2 separate regions of the Homo sapiens genome follow, and region 2 is linked to region 1. The links are contacts of gene promoters, found by promoter capture Hi-C in blood cells and fetal thymus (Javierre and others, 2016). All regions are on one chromosome and are shown on one strand. The core of a region is centred on a gene start or on the middle of the fragment in contact, and the rest is flanking DNA. Distances in the headings are between cores, read along the strand shown. Region 1 holds the start of RAPH1 (Ras association (RalGDS/AF-6) and pleckstrin homology domains 1). Region 2 has its middle 54 kb from the start of CD28.

The links. Contacts are between HindIII fragments. The CHiCAGO score rates a contact against its expected background, and 5 or more counts as called.
Region 2: a fragment that was not itself captured here is called in contact with the fragment with the promoter of RAPH1 in region 1 in 1 of 17 cell types (M0 macrophages); the score reaches 5.5 in M0 macrophages.

The regions. Positions count from the first base shown.
Region 1 is chr2:203,530,158-203,537,644 of GRCh38, forward strand. It overlaps RAPH1 (Ras association (RalGDS/AF-6) and pleckstrin homology domains 1), which reads right to left and starts at 5,144. Exons shown (of 14, transcript NM_213589.3): 1 at 4,954-5,144. RefSeq lists silencers at 4,913-5,012, 5,083-5,172, 5,223-5,292. The HindIII fragment of the contact is 18,695 bases long and covers 3,192-7,487 here.
Region 2 is chr2:203,649,313-203,656,822 of GRCh38, forward strand. No RefSeq gene overlaps it. Among named protein-coding and RNA genes, the nearest start is that of CD28, 54 kb to the right of the region's middle. The HindIII fragment of the contact is 1,736 bases long and covers 5,122-6,857 here.

The sequences.
Region 1 (7,487 bases), core at 3,894-6,393:
AAATACCTTAATAGCAAGAAGAGCATATGAAAAAGCTTTAGAGATCATACAGTCTGGAGTTTTAAAAACTATTTCACAACAAAACTCATCCAGATGAAATTTTACACAGCCTCTCAAATATATAAAGCTGGCAAAAGCATTGCTATTTTATGTTCAAATACATTATGTTAATTTATTGTAAACTCAAATAAAGAGATAAACTAAGGGTTAGAGATGTTAAACAATCCATTTATTTTTGTATGCTTTGTTTTGATTTCACCCAGGTAAGCAGTTGCAGCTCTTAACAGTCCCATCTACAGTCTTCAGGATACTCTTCAAATACACTGATCCAAATGTTTTAAACAATAAAAGGAAAAGCTTTATTCTTAGGAATTTCTGCCCCATCGCACCCCCAAAATTAGCCACGTATAACCATGTAGCACTATGGTCTTCAATGTGTTAAAAAAAATTTAGGCCAAGCGTGATGGCTCACGCCTGTAATCCCAGCACTTTGGGAAGCCGAGGTAGGTAGATCACCTGAGGTCAGGAGTTCAAGATCAGCCTGGGCAACATGATGAAACTCTGTCTCTACTAAAAATACAAAAATGAGCTGGGCACGGTGGTGCATGCCTGTAATCCCAGCTACTCGGGAGGCTGAGGCAGGAGAATCGCTTGAGCCTGGGAGGCAGAGGTTGCAGTGAGCTGAGATTGTGCCATTGCACTCCAGCCTGGGCAACAGAGTAAGACTCCATCTCAAAAAAAAAAAAAAATTATATACACACATGCATACATATAAATATACACATGTGTATATATGAATGAGTATGAGTGCCAGAACCATTCAATGGGGAAAGGACAGTCCTTTCAACAAATGGTGCTGGGAAAACTGGATATGCAAAAGAATGAAGTTGGACCCTTACCTAACACATTTGCAAAAATTAATCCCAAATGGATCAAAGACCTAAACATAAGAGTTGAAACTATAAAACTCCTAAAAGAAAACAGGGAAAACCTTCATGACATTGGATTTGGCTACAGCCTCTTGGATATAACACCAAAAGCACAGACAGAAGAAAAAATAAATTGGACTTCCTCAAAATTTAAAACTTTTGTGTTTGGGGAGTGGGGGGCTGGGGGAGGGATAGCACTAGGAGAAATATCTAATGTAAATGACGAGTCAATGGGGGCAGCAAACAAACATGGCACACGTATACCTATGTAACAAACCTGCACGTTGTGCATATGTACATCAGAACTTGAAGTATAAAAAAAAAAATTTGTGCAAAAGGATACTATCAAGACAGTGAAAAGATAACCCATAAAATGGGAGAAAATGTTTGCAAATCATATATTTGATAAGGGATTAATATCCAGAGTGTACAAAGAACTCCTACAACTCACCAAAAAACAACCTACTTTAAAAATGAGTCAAGGACTTGGATAGACATTTCTCCTCAGATATACAAATGGACAATAAGCATACGAAAAGATGCTCAACATCCCTAATCATTAGGAAAATTCAAATCAAAACCACAATGAAATACCACACCACGCCCATTAGAATAGCTATTATCAAAAACATAAAAAGAAAAAACACTAGAAAAGAAGTGTTGGCAAGATACAGAGAAACTGGAACCTTTGTGCATTGCTAGTGGGAATGTAAAATGGTGCAGCTGCTGTGGAATGCAATATGGCAGTTCCTCAAAAATTAAATATAGAATTAGCATACAATCTAGCAATCCCATTTCTGGGTGTATAGAAATACTGAAAAAAGAACCGAAAGGAGGGATTCAAACAGTTGTATACCAATACTCAAGGCAGCATTATTCACAGTACCCCAAAGGTGGAAACAACCCAAATATCCATAAATGTGGTATATACATACAACGGAATATTAATCAGTCTGAAAAAGGAATGGAATTATGATACATCCTACATGGATGATCTTGAAGACAGTGTGTTAAGTAACATAAGCCAGACACAAGAATCAATATTGTGTGAGTCAAAAGTAGAAAAGTTGTTACTAGGAGGGTAGGGTAGAGGGAGGGAAGTGGATAGTTACTGTTTTGTTTTTGAACAGGGTCTCACTCTGTCACCCAGTGTGCATGATCATAGCGCACTGTGGCTTGTAGAATTACTGTTTAATGGGAAGAATTTCAGTTTGGGATGATAAAAAATTTCTGGAGATGGTGGTGATGATGGCACAATAATGTACTTAAGCCACTGAACTGTACACTTAAAAATAGTTAAAATGGTAATTTGTATGTTATGCATACTTTACCACATTTCTTTCAAAGAGTATATGTGTGTGTTGCTTTAGTGGCAGTGTAAAAACATGGTTAAGAATACAAGCTTAAGAATTAGGCTGCCCGGTTTCAAATCCAGCTCTGCCACTATAGCTCTGCAGTCTTTGGGCAACTTATTGTCTGTGCCTATTTTCTCAAATAATAGACTCTATTTCATAGGGTTATGGCGAGAATTAAATAAATTATCACATATAAAGTGTTTAAAACAGTGTACGTCATACAGTGGCCACTTTTTATTATTATAAGTTTAAAATACATTTTTATTGAGATTAAAGTCAAACATCTGCAGAATCTCTGAAATTCTCAAGTTCAGTGAAACAGTTTAAGAAGCAGTGATCTAATCCAAACTTCTCATTTTATAGGTAAAGGAATTAAGAGTCCAAGATAAGTTATCTGCCTGAGGTCACATCTTGCTTCACTAATATTAATTTTCCTAAAATTAAGTGTTTGGGATTAACAATACTAATGTTGACATTCAATTACTTCCAAACCAAGGCAACCAAAGCCATGAGATTCTACAATGTGTAACCAAGAATCTGTGAATAGTGTGACAGTTATCCACGATGCCAATCTAGTAAGTATTTATGGGGTGAGCACCAAAGGGCAGCAAAACCAAAAGACATAATCATCCTCAAAGACAATGGTTAAAAACACCTCTTTGGAAAATAAAGAGTTAAATATTTGTGAAAACACACCCAATAGTGCCCACTACTCCACTCCTTTCACCCAGTCACATACTCTATAATCTTAGTGAGACCTCTGAGTCTGAAAAATAAGCTGCTGCTTCTACCAAATAAAGCTAACGTTTATCATAAGGCAACATCTACAAATAATTCTTTATTACATTCAAACAGGAGACAGCAATCTAAATTATACAAAATGTCTAACCCAAAAAATCATGAATTAAGCTTTTTGTACTTACTTGAGTAGGGCTGCATCTGGTTTCTGGGAAATTCACCACACAAAAAGCAAAATAACGGAGACAATCTTTGAAGGTCAGACTCAACAAGAGTTAAAAGCTATTGAGCGTCTCTATTTTGCCCCTCCCCCAAAGGTCCTCCCCCTCAATTCGGCTCTCAAAGGATAGCACCACCATGTGAAATGTCCTCCTCCCCATCTGAATCTGCTGAAATCCTACTCATCCTTAAAGGTTTCACTTAAATGCCGAGGCTTCCATGCATTCCTCCCTCAATTTAGAATTAATCTCTCTTCTTCGCTCTCCTATTCTATACCTCAACATTTTACTATATAGTTCACTGTATTACACTTACCTACATTCACTAACCCCCCGCACCGCACCCCCAAAAAAACCACCCCGAGGAGGAAAGGAATTTAAGGTGCTGTTAAACACCTCTATGCCAGGCAAGGTGCTACGCATTTTGCATACATTATCTCATTTAATCTACATGAAAAACATCTGGGGAGGTAAACAGGTGGTGTTATTCCCATTTTACTGATAGGGAACGTACTGCAGAGTTCAATAGCTTATCCAACTCACATTGCAAGCCAATTCCAGGGCGTACGGTTTCCCCCACTCCGAAGAGCTCTTTCCACCACCCCATGCTTGTTCACCTGGTGTCACCCAGCCTAACTGACAGAGTAGGTATTCCATAAATGTTTGCTGAATTTAATATCCCCATGGACTGACTCTTTAATAATCCGATCACGCCTCATCCCTAACCCGTTACCTTTACTGTTCCTTAACGGTGGACTTTACCTACATAAGCAGCTCTCCACATTTCCCTGAGAAATGCTGCAGACAACATCAACCCTTATTGGAAGATTGAGTGAAGAACTTTTCCATTCTCCCGGATTTCCCCAACGGATCTTCCCAAAGAATTTAAGAAATGCACACACGCAAGACACATGTAACACTTACACCCTCCCTCAAGGCTCTTATTTCATATTAAACCATGTCTTCGAGCTTGTAAGCAATAAGGTTTATGCGGTTTCCAGCTCACACAGTGGGGACACCCTAAGTCACTGCCTTAAGAAAACCACATCTTTCAACCTGTCTTAACACGAAGGCATCCTAATACTATCACACTGCCCCCTCCCTCCGTCCACCCCCCCCCCCCCCCCATGAATTGCAGTTTGGATTTCCGGCGGGAATGTATAATACAGACCGCAAGAGGAGACGCGGTTAAAAAGCAATGAAGCAATTACTTATCCTGTTTAATTAGAAAGAAGACACAGAAGGAGCCCCGCCTTTCAAAATCTCTGCACTGAACTCATCTATGAAAGATGGGGGCATCGAAACCCAAGCAACCCGACATCCAGTAGCTGGTTTCTGCAGCTGGGCGGGGGAAAGTCCTTTCCTCCCTGCGGTCCCGGGCCACCAGCCCCCGGTGCTGGGTCGGAGAAGCCTAACCGCACCCTCCCAGGCGGCCCCTTATCTCATTGTCTCCCTCCGTCGCGGTCCCCAGGGGCGCAGGGTGCAGTCCAGGCCCCACCGACCTCCATCCACCAGCCGGGAGCGGTCCAGCCAGCCCCGGCCCGATCCCCAACCTGGCAACGACCCCGCCCCAGGCTGCCGCCGACCGTACCGCACCCGGATGGCGGGGCCGGGCGCCGGGAAAATGGAGGCGGGAGCGGCAGGAGCGCCTCACGGCCCCGCGCCCAGCCGGCTCCCTACCCCCTGGCCCCGAGGGCGAGGCTAACCACTCACCGCGGCAGTCGGTCGGCCTTCCCGCGGCCCCGGGCAAGGAAACCGCCGCTCGCGCTCCTCCAGCCGCTGCCTCCGCCTCCTCCCCAGGCGCGGCGCTCCCTCGCCAGAGACGCAGCGACTGCCAGCAGCTCCCGCGCCGCGCGCTCAGTGACTGACTGACTGACTGACTGACTGACTGACTGACTGACTGGCGGGCGGCGGCGGGAGCGGGGGCGGGGCGGCCGCAGCGCCCCGCGGCGGCGGCGGCGGCGGCGGAGCCGAGTGTGCTCGCGTCCAGCCGAGACGCAGAAGGCGGGGTTGAGGGCCGGACTGCCGACTGTAGGGCCGACTCGCGCGGGACCGCGCGCCGCCCCCGCCCGCCGCCAACCACTCACTTCCGGCGCAGGCCGCCGCGCCCGCCGCCCTTCCCTAGCCCGCGCCCCGCGCCGGCCCTCCGCCCTCCCTTCAGGCGCCCGGCCGCGCCCGGCCGCACTCAACCGCGGCTCCGCTCGTGCCTCGCCTTTCCTCCGCAAGTCCCTGTGAGCCGCCTACAGGAACGAGTGAATCAGAGAATGAATGAGTGGGGAGGAAAATCCCAGTGCTGCCCCACCCCCTGCTCGCCTTTCATAGGAAGCCGGCCCAGCAGCCTCTGTCCTAGCGCCCTGGGAGGCACAGCAGCCTCCAGCAGTTCTGTCAGGGAGCTGTACGCATCCACCTTTATACGCTGTCCGTGTATTCAGAGACTCCAGAAACGCATCCGGGGTTGGCTCGGTCACTTACAGGACCATTGTCGTTGAGATCTGTGAGGCCCTTCTTTAGGAAATCCCATTTTGGCCAAAAAGTCTCTGCAGTTTCATGGAATGTATTGGGAAACTTAGGAACGGGACATTTCGATGACCTTTACTTTTTAAACTTCGAAATCTGTTAATCCTGCCTCCTTAATTTCTGTCCCCCCACCCCATCGGAATTGTGTAGTAGTAAGGTGTCGGCATTTTTCCTTATCGCTAAGCTCAGCTGCTGCCTCTTTAGATGCAGGCTTGACTTCGGCAGACTTTTAGATTTTAAGTATGTCCTTATTTTGACCTTCACCTAAAGTTGATCAAAGAAAGGAACAAATGGAACTAAGTTATGTTTGCTTGGCTACATGCAAAGCAAGTTTGTTGACAGCATTAAAACAATTGAGAAATTGGGAGTGTGACCTGAAATTGGTTGCAATGAACATTGCTTTTTCATGTCTTCCCATCTGCTTGCTAAGAATTTATTTAAATTTTCACAAAGCATTGACTGTACATTCCTGAAATCCTAGCTCCCTCTCTAAGAATGAGAGTGTTCATTTCTCTGTCCTGGGGCCAAATCCTGGTTTGGTTAATTACATTCTTACTTCCTGATATTCTTGAGGACTTTCAAGTGGTTTCAGTCTTTTTTGTACAATCTGTTCCAAACTGGTACACAATCTGTTTCAAATTGGTATTTAGAACCATACAATACAGATACTGGCTGCCTTTCACACTTGAGATATCTGTACTTTTGAAACATAACTGCCCTTTTGTATTTTAAGTTCAGTAGGTATGTCAATATTCTTGTATAGAATAATACTATCTCTTGACTGGATTAAGAAAATGTGGCACATATACACCACGGAATACTATGCAGCCATAAAAAAGGTTGAGTTAATGTCCTTTGTAGGGACATGGATGAAGCTGGAAACCATCATTCTCAGCAAACTATCGCAAGGACAGAAAACCAAACACCACATGATCTCACTCATAGGTGGGACTTGAACAATGAGAACACTTGGACACAAAGCAGGGAATATATCACACAGGGGCCTGTTGGGGGGATGGAGAGGGGGGAGGGATAGCATTAGGAGATATACCTAATGTAAATGATGAGTTAATGGGTGCAGCACACCAACATGGCACATGTATACATATGTAACAAAGCTGCACGTTGTGCACATGTACCCTAGAACTTAAAGTATAATAAAAAATAAAAATAATAAAAGAATAATACTATCTCTTATAAATGAAGATGATCCTGCTGACCAACTTCTTTTAGACTTCTCTTCCTTTCTTGTGGGAATCATCATTTGCCACCTAATTATTTCAAGAAGTTATCCTCCAAAAGTGAATATAATACAACACTTTATTCATCCTTGTATCTCCCACAATATCTAGCATAGTATCTTGCACAATAAGTATTTATAAATTAATAAATGCTTTAAAATTTTTCATAAGTGATAATTTTATACAAATGTATCTAGTCTTTCACCTCATTTCCCTTGTGACCAAGTTTGTTGACATTAGACACACCTGGGTGCCAAACTTAATGAATCCTATTGTCATTAAATGTACTAGGCTGTGTGATACCTTACAAGGAAGATGATTCATTTAAACCTCCTTAAAAAAATAGACGATTGAAGCCAGGAGTGGTGGCTCGCACCTGTAATCCCAGCACTTTGGGAGGCTGAGGTGGGCGGATCACCTGAGGTCAGGAGTTGGAGACTAGCCTGGCCAACATGGTGAAATCCCATCTCTACTAAAAATACAAAAATG
Region 2 (7,510 bases), core at 4,740-7,239, 120 kb after region 1:
TTTTCCATGTAACAGTTGAGTCTTAAAAACGTGGGAACGGCCAGGTGCAGTGGCTCACGCCTGTAATCCCAACACTTTGAGACACTGAGGTGGGAGAATTGCTTGAGCTCAGGAATTCCAGACCAGCCTGGGCAATATGGAGAAACCTCATCTTTGCCAAAAATACAAAAAAATTAGCTGGGTGTGGTGGCGTGTGCCTACAGTGCCAGCTACTCAGGAGGCTGAGGCAGGAGAACTGCTTGAACCTGGGAGGCAGAGGTTGCAGTGAGCTGAAATTTTGCCATTGCCCTCCAGCCTGGGTGACAGAGTGAGACTCCATTTCAAAAACAACAACAACAACAACAAAAAGCACAACTCCAAAACCAAACAGCAAGTGCTTTTTTAAAAGTTTATAGAGCAAAAGATGGCAACATCTTCTGAACATAATAAGCATTTTCAAATGTGGGTCAAAGATAGCTCCTTTTGAAAGGCAGAATTTTTAAAAAGATGAGCAAAACATTTACTTCGTGGAACTTAGTGAATATCCTCTTCTCTGTAAGCAAAAATACACTTCTCCCCATTCCTCTAAGGATGCCAGATCCTGATTCATTTTCTGTTCAAGACTCAGCAGAAACACAATGCTCCATTTTATAGAGGGTTATTGCAACACAATGACGGCACTATAATTTCTGTCAGGGTGAAGTGCTTCACTTGGCTTTGGGCCAGTGAAACTCAGTGTTGTTTAGCCCTTCTGTAATTTTGGACACAGGCAAATACCTTCATGTTTATGCATTCTGTATGCTTTTAGGAAGCATTTTTAAAATGTGGTTTTAACAGCATCTCATTAGAAGCAGCAGTTGGATTTTCCATGTGACCAGATTTCTTATCCCTGGTGTGAACATTTAGTTTTTAAGGCATTGCAAATGAAAGCACCACCCACTTCTGAGGCCAAAGCAGTCGTAAAACCCCTTTGTCAAAGGAAACCTGTAATTGTAAAATTCCTCCTTGATTTCATCGTTCATGTGGACTGAAATAGAGTTCCTCTTTTTTTTTTTTTTTTTGGTCTGGTTATGTGGTGTGTGGTCATTCCTTTTTTTTTTTTTTTTTGAGACCAAGTCTCGCTCTGTTGCCAGGCTGGAGTGCAGTGGCACGATCTTGGCTCACTGCAATCTCTGCCTCCTGGCTTCAAGCTATTCTCCTGCCTCAGCCTCCCGAGTAGTTGGGATTACAGGTGTGTGCCACCAAACCCAGCTAATTTTTGTATTTTTAGTAGAGACGGAGTTTCACCATGTTGGCCAGGATGGTCTCCATCTCCTAACCTCATGATCTGCCTGCCTCGGCCTCCCAAAGTGCTGGGATTACAGGCGTGAGCCACCGCGCCCAGCCCCAGTGTGTGGTCATTCTTAATGTTGTTTTGAAGAAGTTATAGACAGTTAAGGAAACATCTTAGAGAACTGGCCAAGCTCTAAAGCTAGGCACATTTCATATTTTTGTCTATTTAATAAAAAAGGACAAGACTGTTTTCCCGGAAGCCTCCTGGTCCGACTCCCAATACCTGCCTGTGGATAGCACTGTGGACTTTTGTCCCAGAAGACTAGTGTCTGGATAAATGTTTTGTAAGCCTTACTTCCTGGATGGGAGCCAACTGATTGCTTACACGTGATACTCATCTCCCCATGAACAGTCATGGTGGCTGCTGTGTACTGGAGTCCTGCAGCTGTAAAGGGGACACGCTAGAAGGAGAGAAGGGAACAGTCCTTTGCAGGAGCACAGCTGTGTAGCAGGCCTTTGATCCAACAGCAAAACCAAGCCTAGCAAGTTAGTTATCTCATTCCTTTTTAGCAATATGACATGACGAACATGCTGCAATGACTTCCAAATACTTCCCTCCTTTTTGCTTAGATTGGGGGTAGAATGAGGATAGAAAATGAGAGGTCTAGGGAAAAACAAAGTATTTGTGTATTCAGACATTTATTGACTCTAAATGCAAACATTTACTAAGTCCTCTCTGCAGGCCAGGTACTGTGCTCAATGTTTTACATGAGTTCTCTCTCTCAATTCTTACCATAACCACCAAGTAGATAAATCCCAACTTCTGTTTAGCAGTTGAGGAAATTGAGCCTTTGGGGAGGTTAAGAAACTTGCCCAAGGTAACATAGTAGTAAGAGGCAAAGCTGGGACTCTATCCTGATGCGATGCCAAGCCTATGCTCTTAACCACTGTGCTATACTGCCTCCCTGTGTTAGAATATCTTTTATCTTTTATCCCCAGCACTGTGGAAGAGAAGTAGAAGATAACAAACCTGCTACATGGTAGATGCCTGGAGATAATATTATGTATGTTTGCCATTATATTATATTCTTATGTTAGGGTACACTAAATTGCTATGTTCTATTTGAAACAACCAGGAAACCTAACTGGGCTCAAGCAAATGTAATTCAAGCTGTTTGATCTCTAAAATATGATTATAATGATCTCTTCTTATTGGCCTCTCTGTCTGTCCCTGGCTTTCTGAAGAGATCTTTTGTTTTGTATGTACAGTTGTTACTGAGAAATACCAGCTGCAGGGGAACAATTCATGACATTACCTTCTCCCCAGCATTTTCCCTCCCCACAACCCCCGGTCCTGGAGAGTGCTGTTATTTTGAATGAATATGATTGACAGAGATGGGAAGGTCTCACTTTTGTTTATCTTATAAAATTTACTGAAGCCAAAACTTCTCCAAAAGAGGTCCCAGCATTTTCCTTTGGTTCAGACACAAACCTTCAGAGGAAAATAAATGCTCCGGTGAAACATAGTTGAAAGACAGAGAGGCAGAAGGAGGAGTAACACTTTTAGGAGTTTCAAGCACTGTGATAGCCATTGACTTTTATTTTTGGAATCCTGAGGGATAGTTACATCTCAAAGCACAAACTAAAGATAATTCCCGAGATTATTGAATGTCCTCTGATAGAGACATCAGATTTCAGGTTGGTCTAATTTTCTTTGACTACTTATTTCTGAAAATTGTCTGTGGAATACGGAGTCCATCCTTAAATTAAGCTTTCCCTGGCTGGGCGTGGTGGCTCACACCTGTAATCCTAGCACTTTGGGAGGCCAAGGCGGGTGTATCACTTGAGGTCAGGAGTTCGAAACCAGCCTGGCCAACATGGTGAAACCCCATCCCCACTAAAAATACAAAAAAATTAGCTGGGTGTGGTGGCTTGAACCTGGGAGGCAGAGGTTTCAGTGAGCCAAGATCGCGCACTGCACTCCAGCCTAGGGTGATAGAGCAAGAGTCTGTTTCAAAAAAAAAAAAAAAATTAGGCCTTCCCCTAATTCCATATTCTGTGTGAGGGAGTTCCCTTAGGTAACCTAAATCAGAATAAATCTGTATATATTCCTCTGGTCTTCCATACAAGTATAAAGCTTTCTGCCATACTAGAGGCTCGCAATCTCCTGTGTTTGTAGCACACTTTCAAGTGCTGTAAGTATTGGCAACACACATAGGGGCTTAAAGGAATTGAAACTACACCACCATGTTCAGTATGATATATGATAAAACAGTATCTTATGGTATCCATACAAGTACATACAGCAAAGGTACAGCTCTTATGCTTCCCTTTCCACGCCACATCTAGGTTTGAGGACTGCTCAGTTTACTGCCTTTACCTTGATGTCTTCATTTTTTTTTTTTTTTTTTTAGACAGAGTCTCGCTCTGTTGCCCAGGCTGGAGTGCAGTGGCGTGATCTCAACTCACTGCAAGCTCTGCCTCCCAGGTTCACGCCATTCTCCTGCCTCAGCCTCCCAAGTAGCTGGGACTACAGGCGCCCACCACCACGCCTGGCTAATTTTTTGTATTTTTAGTAGAGACGGGGTTTCACCATGTTAGCCAGGATGGTCTCGATCTCCTGACCTCGTGATCTGTCCACCTCGGCCTCCCAAGATGTTTTCTTTTATGTTTGGGGAACAGTGTTTCCATGTTTTGGAAAACATGTAATTGTTCTTTGCTGCAATCTGTCATTACGCCACAACTTTTACTTTTTGCAGAATGCATCTTGATAGACCTCAGTGTAACCATATGTATACTCAGTTGCAGCAAAAATAGATTTTACAAAATTTATTTTACCAAACAAATGGAGTGCCATAGCATACTGCTGGAAAACCACTGTCTTATATACCTGAAGAGTAAATCACAATAAAAAGAAGAGCAGAATGAGGCCGGGCGCAGTGGCTCATGCCTGTAATCCCAGCACTTTGGGAGACCAAGGTGGGCGGATCACTTGAGGTCAGGAGTTCGAGACTAGCCTGACTAATACGGTGAAACCCCGTCTCTACTAAAATTACAAAAATTAGCGGGGCATAGGCCTGTAGTCCCAGCTACTCAGGAGGCTGAGGCAGGAGAATCTCTTGAACTGGGGAGGCAGAGGTTGCAGCTAGCTGAGATCACACCACTGCATTCCAGCCTGAGCAACAGAGTGAGACGCTGTCTAAAAAAAAAAAGGAAGAACAGAATGAAAAAATTGGAACAGCATCGGAGGGTCCTTGCCCAGTGGCCCTACACTGGCATCTGAAAGCAGAGCTTTGCCCTTCTCCTTGTGGGATGACAATGCGAGGCTGCTTTTCCAGTTAGTGCCACTTAGAGTTGGCTGCTCTGGGAGACGTATGGACATGAGGTTGCTTGGTGAAGCCTGGATAATGTGCCAGAATGTCAGTGGGTTCTTATAGTTTGATGATGTAGAGGTGTGGATATGCGGAGAATAACATTATATATATACTTAAAAGTTAGCACTTGTAGGGCTGGGCACAGTGGCTCAGGCCTGTAATCCCAGCAATTTGGGAGGCCAAGGCAGGTAGATCACGAGGTCAGGAGATCAAGACCATCCTTGCTAGCGCGGTGAAATCCCATCTCTACTAAAAATGCAAAAAATTAGCCGGGCGTGGTGGCAGGTGCCTGTGGTCCCAGCTGCTCAGGAGGCTGAGGCAGGAGAATGGCGTGAACCCGGGAGGCGGAGCACGCAGTGAGCTGAGATCGCGCCACTACACTCCAGCCTGGGCGACAGAATGAGACTCCATATCAAAAAAAAAAAAAAAAAAAAAAGTTGGCACTTGTTTGGTATTAAAAGCTCAGGTTTGCAAGTGTCTGCCTTGCATTTAGAGAAGCTTGTGGTATTATCGCTCCGTGTTCGGAATTACCCAAGTGATTCCAGGAAGATTAGGCAAGTTTATTTTATTATCATGCACATTAATTTAGGAATTTGGCTGGAAACTTTATTTCCCTTTTTCTTAAAGCAAATATCTAAAGTTGATCCTTTTTAAATACTACAGCATTCATTTTCCTCAAGTTTCTTAGTATCATAGGCAAATGTAAATCCTGGGTAGTTTGGAGAAATGAATCAAAAAGAAGGAATGAATAAAACACAACAAATTTCATTCAGAATAAGCCTGTGCCTAATGCTTACGTGCAGTGTGGGTAGGGCATAGCTACTTTATTCAAATTATTTGTTGAAGGTCTACCATCTACCTAATCTATATTCTAGTTTCTGAGGATAAAACAGTGAACAAGACAGATCAGTTTCTGCTGTCGCTGATCTTAAATTTTAGTGGGAAGGGCAAATGACAAACAATATACAAATGAATATATAACATGCCAAATAAGGAGGGAATCGAGAGTAATGAAGTGGGGAGGGAGCCACAAGTGCTAATTCATAACTGGTAGGTGGGGAAAAATTTCTGATAAGGCGACATTTGAACAGGGAACTGGTGAGCCATGTGGGTGTCTGTGGCAACTGTACTCCAGGCTGAAGAACATCACAGGCAAAGACCCTGAGGAGGCAGCACAGTGGGCACATTCAAGAGCAGCAGGAAGACCATTATCTTCCTGGCTGGATCAAAGTGAGCCAAGAAAGCACTGGAAGGTGATAAGATGAGGGTGCAGGGAAATCATGTGGGTCCTTACAGACTGAGGTGAGAATTTGGCTCTTATTCTGAGTAAGAGGAATCTACTGGAGGATTTTGAGCAGAGGAATGACATGATCAGGCGTACGTTTTTGGCTATCGTGTGGAAGACATGGTGGGTGGGAAAGTGGGTAGGAGGCTATTTTGATCATTGAAATGAGAGCTCATGGTGGTCTGCACCAGGATAATAGCAGTGACAGTGATGAGAGGTGGTCAGACTCTGGATGTATTTTGAAGACAGAGTTGACATGCTTTGCTGCTGGACTGAACGTGGAGTGCGAAAGAAAGAGAGGAGTCAGGCCGAGGCAGTGGCTCATGCCTGTAATCCCAGCACTTTGGGAGACGAAGGCAGGTGGATCACTTGAGGTCAGGAGCTTGAGATCAGCCTGGGTAACATGGTGAAACCCCGTCTCTACTAAAAATACAAAAATTAGCCAGGTGTGGTGGTGCGTGCCTGTAGTCCCAGCTTCTCTGGAGGCTGAGGCATGAGAATTGCTTGAACCTGGGAGGTGGAGGTTGTAGTGAGCCAAGATCGCACCACTGCATTCCAGCCTGGGTGACAGAGCGAGACTCTGTCTCAAAAAAAAAAAAAAAAAAGAGGAGTCAAAGATGACTCCAATGTATTTACCACTTAGTGACCAGAGAAAGGCTATTTCCCTGGGCCTTTCTAGATGAGAACTGTGGGTGGGATTGTGGAGATAGGAATGAGGGCACAGGGAGACAGGCTATGCATAGAATGGGGATTTCGGTGGGTTGTTTCTTGGTGCATAATTATAAACTGTTTTGCTGTCAGCTACATATTTGGTGTCCTTAGTCTGTAATGATGTTTGGGAAGCCTCAAACCAAACCAAAGCATTTCCTCTGCCATCATGGGGGCCGTTTTAATTGCTCCAGTAGAGAGAAAAATCTTTGTTTAAACAATTGGAAGACAGGCCAAGAAGCTTGAAGTCTTTTTTATGGAAGAGGGAGGGCCAGTTTGAAATTTGCAAAATTCGGAAAGACTGGGGAAAAAACCCACATATTTGTTCACCTTCCCTTTCAACATTAGAATTAGCCCAGCTAAGCTTAAAGGAGGTGGTGTTTAGGCAGTGAACAGGCATTACTGTTTTACACAGCAGGTAATAAATAGATAGAACTCTGTACTCCAAGGATGATATAGATTGAAAATATAAATGTACTTGATAAGTGTTTAGAAAACTTGCAGCTAGTATATATAATAAATTATTGTATAAACTAGGGATTCAGTTATACTCTACCAAAATTTATTGAATGTGTACTTTGGGTATATTATTATGCTAACTGCTATGGCAGATATAGTAATGAATAAAATACAGTCCTGTTGCTCAAGAGTTTCTAATCAATAGGAATGACAACATGCCTCTAAGTATAAAAATTCAGACTCCTCTACACTATGGTAGATTGATTGCATTAACGGCCCCTCCCAGTTTTCACAGCCTTTGCCCTGAACCTTTGTGTTCCCTCCCATTCTGACTCTGGGCTCATTGATGTGACTTGCTTTGGCGCTGGAATGTTAGCAAACATGATGCAAGCAGAGGCTTGAAAAGCGCAGGCGTTTCCTCTTGCCCTCTTGC